Linked DNA regions of Homo sapiens: region 1 is linked to region 2. Evidence: promoter capture Hi-C in human tissues and cell types (Jung and others, 2019). All regions are on one chromosome and are shown on one strand. The core of a region is centred on a gene start or on the middle of the fragment in contact, and the rest is flanking DNA. Distances in the headings are between cores, read along the strand shown. Region 1 overlaps BUD13 (BUD13 spliceosome associated protein). Region 2 holds the start of APOA4 (apolipoprotein A4).

The links. The method cuts DNA at HindIII sites, captures the fragments that hold promoters and counts their contacts. A contact is called where the count stands out against the background at its distance.
Region 1: a contact is called between a fragment that was not itself captured here and the fragment with the promoter of APOA4 in region 2, in 2 of the 25 tissues and cell types used here (dorsolateral prefrontal cortex and stomach).

What each region holds. Positions count from the first base shown.
Region 1 is chr11:116,764,601-116,768,185 of GRCh38, reverse strand. BUD13 (BUD13 spliceosome associated protein) reads left to right here. Exons shown (of 10, transcript NM_032725.4): 3 at 2,740-2,824. Among named protein-coding and RNA genes, the nearest start is that of BUD13, 6.6 kb to the left of the region's middle. The HindIII fragment of the contact is 6,710 bases long and covers 1-3,585 here.
Region 2 is chr11:116,822,054-116,825,674 of GRCh38, reverse strand. It overlaps APOA4 (apolipoprotein A4), which reads left to right and starts at 2,371. Exons shown (of 3, transcript NM_000482.4): 1 at 2,371-2,532; 2 at 2,890-3,016. The coding sequence starts at 2,484. RefSeq lists enhancers at 1-162, 17-383. The HindIII fragment of the contact is 11,668 bases long and covers 1-3,621 here.

The DNA.
Region 1 (3,585 bases), core at 365-2,864, 57 kb after region 2:
AGAAATCAGTTTATTTCTTTATTCCCATAAAATGAAATGAGTGGATCAAAGGGTATGGTTCGCTTTAGTTATATTCCCATGTTGCTTTCCAAAAGGTGCTACCAATTTACACTCCCACTAGAGGTGATGAGAATGCCAGTTTGCCTACGTCGTCAATATTAGAGCACTATTATTATTATTATTATTATTATTATTATTATTATTATTATTTTTGAGACAGGGTCTTGCTCTGTTGCCCAGGCTGAAATACAGTGGTGTGATCATGCCCCATTGTAGCCTCTACCTTCCAGGTGCAAGCAATCCTCCTACCTTAGTCCTGCACGTAGCTGGTACCACAGGTGCGCACCTCCATGCCTGGCTAATTTTGGGTATTTTTTGTAGAGATGAGGTCTCTGTGTTGCCCAGTCTGGTCTTGACCTCCTGGGCTCAAGTGATCCTCCTGCCTAGGCCTCCTAAAGTGTTGGGATTACAGGTGTTAGCCACATGCCCCACCAATATTGAAGGATTATTAACAAAACAAAACCAATAGCAAACCTATGCTGATTTAGCAAGTGAGTAATGGTATCCAGTTTCTTTTTTTTTTTTTTTTTTTTTTGGTGGAGTCTCACTCTGTTGCCCAGGCTGGAGTGCAGTGGCGTGATCTCGGATCACTGCAAGCTCCGCCTCCCGGGTTCACGCCATTCTCCTGCCTCAGCCTCCCGAGTAGCTGGGACTACAGGCACCTGCCACCATGCCTGGCTAATTTTTTGTATTTTTAGTAGAGATGAAGTTTCACTGTGTTAGCCAGGATGATCTTGATCTCCTAACTTCATGATCTGCCTGCCTCGGCCTCCCAAAGTGCTGGGATTACAGACGTGAGCCACCGTGCCTGGCCCAGTTTCTTTGAACACTAGTGAAATGAATCATTTTTTATATGTTCATTAGGCTTATGTTGTGGGTGTATTTTATCATTTGCCTTTTCACTTAGTTCATAATTGTTTTTATTATTTTTTTTTTTTGAGACATATTCTCACACTGTCACCAACGCTGGAGTGCAGTGGCTCAATCTTGGCTCACTGCAGCCTCTGCCTCCCAGGTTCAAGTGAACCTCCTGCCTCAGCCTCCCAAATAGCTGGGATTACAGGCGCCTGCCACCATGCCCAGCTAATTTTTGTGTTTTTGGTAGAGACGGGGTTTCACCGTGTTGCCTAGGCTGGTCATGAACTCCTGGGCTCAAGCAATCCACCCGCCTCAGCCTCCCAAAGTGCTAGGATTACAGGAATGAGCCACCGCACCTGGCCATTTTCTTTTATAATATTGTCTTGCTTTTATGATGGCCCAAAAACCTAAACAAAGGAGGCTTTAGTGCCACTGCTCTCTGCATTGGTTAAAACAGATCTTGATTACTGAATTCATTTTTGTAACTGCAAGATCACCACCACCACCAGTAATAATGGTAAAACGATTATGATGATTACGATAGCAGTGGCAGCACAGGAATAATTAATAGGTGTCATTTATTGGGCATTTATCATGTACCAAGCATGGCTAAGCTTACGTGAATTATCTCATTCAATCCTTATAGCAATCCTTTGAATCCCACTTTTACAAATGAGGAAATTGAGGCTTAGAATAATTTACCAAAGGTTACACAAATGCTAAGTGGCCGAGCTGGGGTTTAGATCTTAATTCATCTTGCCCGAAACCTGTGCTTTTAACGCTCAGTGAGAGATCTCAAAACTGGGTTATATGAAGAATGATGGTAGGATTTTGGGAGAAGTAGAGGGCTATTATGACCTGGATTTAAATTCCAGTTCTGCCACTTGTTAGCTTGTGACATTGAGAAAGTTACTGAACTTCTCCGAATCAGTTTGCTATTCAGTAGTGTGGAGCCTTTCTTTACAGGATTATTGTGAGAATCGAGTTAGATTATATGAGTAAACCACAAAACACAGTACCTTGCACATAGTTGCTACTCTGTAACTAGGATTTATTATGCCAGCAATCTTGAAAGTTTGTCATGTGGACTTACATCACAGGTCAGAACTAGAATGAATTCAAAGAAGTTATAGGAAGGCAGATACGGTACTAGTAAAACTAAGAACTTTCTAACATTTTTGAAAAATGCAGTGGACTGTGTTGTAAGATAATGAGTTCCTTGTCAGGAAGGGATTGGGCGAGTGACCACTTATTAGGAATACTATAGAGAAGATTCTGATTTGTTCAGAAGTTTAGAAGATATGAAATGTGGTTTTAGCTCTTAAAGATTAATGATTCTGTGTACATCTCAGTGGCTCTTTTTGGTTGTATTCAAGAAAACCTATCACTGTGACTACCTACAACAAGAAAGGATTCATAGAAACCCAAAGTCCTTGATTAGTGCTAGGCATGATGGGGGGAGCCACCTATGTTTCCACTGTTAATGTAGAAGTAAAAGTGTAAAAGGAATTTAGTTGTTAGTTTACAAGTGGCTGTTGTGTACCTAGCAGGTTAATAAAAAGGTTTGTAATGAAAAAAATTAACCTTTGCAGGGTAATTGATTAATTAGAGAAGGATCTACAATTAAACCAATACAGTGACAATCAGATGTTTATGGAGCAAACATAACTGAAGACCCCTACTTACTTCTTCATGACCATTTTGGATATATGTACGCCCTTGTGTTAGGAATCGGAATGGTTGTAACTTCAGGTTCTTGAGACAGTGCTTCTTGGCTGGATCCTGTGGATTTCCTAAGATAGGAAATCTTTACTCTCACAGGTGGCAGAGTTTGTGGATGAGCGGCCAGAAGAGGTAAAGCAGATGGAGGCCTTTCGTTCCAGTGCCAAATGGAAGCTTCTGGGAGGTGAGTTCCAACAATAGATAAATCTAAATTTCCATTAGTAGGGGAGATCTTTTTTCCTTTTCTATACTTTTCTTTAGAGGAATGCATAGTTTGTTTTAGCATGTCATTGATCCTGAAAAATAAAGCAGGAAAAAGGAAGTTGGACTTCTTCAGAGGTAGTAAGACATAGGAACTTATAGACCAGATATTCCTCTTTCTCTTATATTTTGGCATTAGGATTACTGAGGTTGGTGACTAATTTGGAGGCCTTTGAGCACCCATTCCTCTTTGACTCAGAATAGGAGAGCACTTGGTGTATAGGCAAGACTTTGGGAGGAGTTTACAAGAAACAGGAGCAGAATTTGGGGACTTTAGCTACCACTATCCTCTTCCACAATGAAGCAACTCATTTCTGGGGGGTCAAGGACCAGTGTATTTTGTTCTGTTTGTGTTAGTAAATTTCTCTCTTCTTTCCTTAAGTATTGGTGTTTTATAGTGCATTACCCTCCACTTGCCCACTTTGGACTCTTCCTAAGCTAATAATCTTAATTTAACTCTCTTTAAAAAAATTTGAGTCCTTGAGAATTGGATAAAAAGCATTTGTTTGTCACATCTGTTTGAGCATAGACTAGTCTTATTTGCCATGATATTCCCCTATCTAGCACAAGGAGCTACCTTTAATAAATATTTGTAGAATTGTTTAATTGCTAGTAGGTATTTGATTTTTGTAGCCTAATCAGAATTCTTTTCCAAAGAGAATCTTTTGGTCTCCATGTCTGTTT
Region 2 (3,621 bases), core at 1,122-3,621:
ATGTCACCTCATAGTCACTAGGAGTGGTGTGGTCCGGCAGAGGGACCCATGCTGACGTGGTGTGTCACCTTCTCAGTGGATGTTTGTGTGTGATTATGCATGCAGCCTCATTTAGAGATCCAATAGACATCTAAGTAGAAGACCTCCTGGGCACCACCACCATTGCCCTCCATCCCCCAATGGGAGGTCCCCTGAGAGCCTCAGGTCCCAAGATTCTGCTCAAGCCAGCTGCTCCTGCCCAGGGAGTGTGGCTGGGGGGCAAGAAGGGCAGGAGTCAGGCCTCAGGCTGGTCCCACCCATCACCCTGCCTCTGGCCCACCTGGCGCCCCTCAGAGGGCTGAGTCTCACTCTGCCACTCTCACTAGAGGAGGGAGCACTCTGCTACCCTCCCTGCTTTGCTCCAAATCAGGAACACAGTATGATTATTATACAGTATGATTATTATAATAACAGCAACTATTTTTCAGAGCTTACTCTGTGCCAGGAGCTCTATAGGCAGCCCTCTGTATCCTTGGTTTCTGTGTCCATGGATTCAACCAACCTTGGATTGAAAATAATTTTTTAGGCCGGGCGTGGTGGCTCACGCCTGTAATCTCAGCACTTTGGGAGGTTGAGGCGGGCGGATCACGAGGTCAGGAGATCGAGACCATCCTGGCTAACACGGCGAAACCCCATCTCTACTAAAAATACAAAAAAAAAAAAAAAAATTAGCCGGGCGTGGTGGCGGGCGCCTATGGTCCCAGCTACTTGGGAGGCTGAGGCAGGAGAATGGCGTGAACCCGGGAGGCAGAGCTTGCAGTGAGCCGAGATCGTGCCACTGCACTCCAGCCTGGGTGACAGAGCAAGACTCCATCTCAAAAAAAAAAAAAAAAAAAAAAATATATATATATATATATATATATTTTTTTTTTTAAATTGCATCTGTGGGCCGGGTGCAGTGGCTCATGCCTGTAAGCCCAGCATTTTAGGAGGCAGAGATTGGAGGATCACTTAAGGCCAGGAGTTGGAGACCAGCCTGAGCAACATAGCGACACCCCATCTCCATTAAAAACAATGTTTTAAAAAAATTGCATCTGGGCAGGGCGCAGTGGCTCACGCCTATAAGCCCAGCACTTTGGGAGGCCCACATGGGAGGATTGCTTGAGGCCAGGAGTTGGAGACCAGCCTGAGCAACATGGTGAAACCCCGTCTCTGCTGTAAATACACAAATTAGCTGGGCGTGGTGGTGGGTGCCTGTAATCCCAGCTACTCAGGAGGCTGAGGCAGGAGAATCACTTGAACCTGGGGGGCAGAGATTGCAGTGAGCTAAGATCGTGCCACTGCACTCCAGCCTGGGTGACAGAGTAAGACTCCATCTCAAAAAAAAAAAAAATTGCACCTGTACTAAACATATACAGACTTTTTTGGTGATTACCTCCTAAACAATACAGTATAACAACCATTCACACAGCATTTCCGTCGTATTAGGTATTATAAGTAATCTAGAGATTTAAAGTATGTGGGAGGCTGTGCTTAGGTTATATGCAAATACTATGCCATTTTATATCAAGGACTTGAACATCCATGGATTTTGGTATCTGCAGAGGGTCCTGGAATCAATTTCCCATGGAGACTGAGAGATGACCGTACTACCCACTTCGCAAGCAATGTCTTCTTTAATGTACTGAACCATCCCATTGTTCAGAGGAGAAACTGAAGCTCAGGGCTTTGAATAACTAGACCAAGGAGGCACAGCATGGGAGTGGGACATGAAGCACTCTACAATTAACCCTTTCAGGACAAGGCCCTGTCTCCCACACCCATCTGCCCAAAGGCTCTCCAGGGCCCCCTCCTCTTGGGTGTACCTTGACAAGAGACCTAGATTTTAGCTCACTATGCTGTCTGCAGTCCTGGATGGTCCCACTCCAGTGTCTGGTGCTCTGAGATGGAGTCAGCATTAGTGGCGGATGTGGAGACTGGGGGGACCTGTCTTCACTGGGGTAGACAGAGGAGATGTGGACTTTGCCCCCCATGAGCCCGGCACAAACCCAGAGCCGCCAGCAGGGCCTCGAGGCATCAGTCCCGGGCTCATGGGCTCCCTGAGGTGTTTCTCCTACTGTTTTCCGTTCCCCTCCTCCCTTCCATGCTGAGGTTGGTGGGGTGGGGGTGGGGGTGCCCACGCACGGAACAGCCACCACTTCTAACTATCGCCTGAGCCCTGATCTGCTGTCAGCTTCCACGTAGTCTCAGGGTCACAAAAGTCCAAGAGGCCTCTTGGGAATGTGTCACCTTCCAGCGTGGAGTCACACTGAGGAAGGAGGAGGGGAGGGCAGCCAGGGGGGTGGCGATAGGGAGAGAGTTTAAATGTCTGGCTGGCTCTGAGCTTCAGTCAGTTCCCACTGCAGCGCAGGTGAGCTCTCCTGAGGACCTCTCTGTCAGCTCCCCTGATTGTAGGGAGGATCCAGTGTGGCAAGAAACTCCTCCAGCCCAGCAAGCAGCTCAGGATGTTCCTGAAGGCCGTGGTCCTGACCCTGGCCCTGGTGGCTGTCGCCGGTGAGTAGAAGCTGTCTTTGGATGGCACTCCTGGGCTGCTGCTCTGAGTAGTGCAGGATGGAGGCTGAGCCAAAGCAAAAGGACACTTCTGAGTGCCCATCAGCCCCCAGCTGGACATGAGGTCTGCCTGGCTGCCAAGTGGCTCACAGGAGAGCTGGCCCAGTCCCAGTGGTGGGCCCATTGGCATTGGTGCTATACCAGTTTCACATATCCCTGTGGCTTCCAAAAAGCTAAGCTCAGACAGGGAAAATGGCAGGTTGAGGCACCCCCACCATCATCCAGTCTGCAGCTCAGAGCTGGAGCAGAGGGGCCACACAGGAGACGGGGCCTCATGAATTGCTCTCTGTTACCACCCAGGAGCCAGGGCTGAGGTCAGTGCTGACCAGGTGGCCACGGTGATGTGGGACTACTTCAGCCAGCTGAGCAACAATGCCAAGGAGGCCGTGGAACATCTCCAGAAATCTGAACTCACCCAGCAACTCAAGTAAGAGGGACTACAGTGTGCGGTGGTGACGGGGAATTCTTAAAGGCCATGCAATGTACTGGCAAGGGTTGAGCTTAGAGACAGGAGCCCTGAGCTTAGGATACCCACTGCCCTGCCACTAACTGGCCGGGCCTCTGAACCTAGGATCCACATATGTAAACCGGAAGTTTGGACCGAATAATCCCTGCCATGTCCTTTTGCTTTGACGTTCTAGAGTTTGACAAATGGCCACATCCTATCATTCAGGCTCATGGAAGAGAGGGAGGGAGGAAAATGTCACGTGAGCTGATTTCTAATACGTTTCAGAAAGACAGGCCCCAGTGGAATCAAGGGGAGGGAGGTGGGAATATTTGGGAGGCCCCTGGGCACAGGCAAGGAAAGCAGCACCTTGTGCCACTGGAAGACCCCAGCAGAGGTCAAGAAGACAACATTGTGTTACACAATGTGATCCTATGGCCCAGAACACTCCCTCTGGGAAGGACCTCAAAGTCCCACCCTCTGCAGACAAGGAGGGGAAAGCAAACTGCTGGAGGTGACATGGTGGGTAGATTCTGAGACAAACTATGTGGGAGATCCTGAGATAGAAATTCAGCATCGTAACTTAG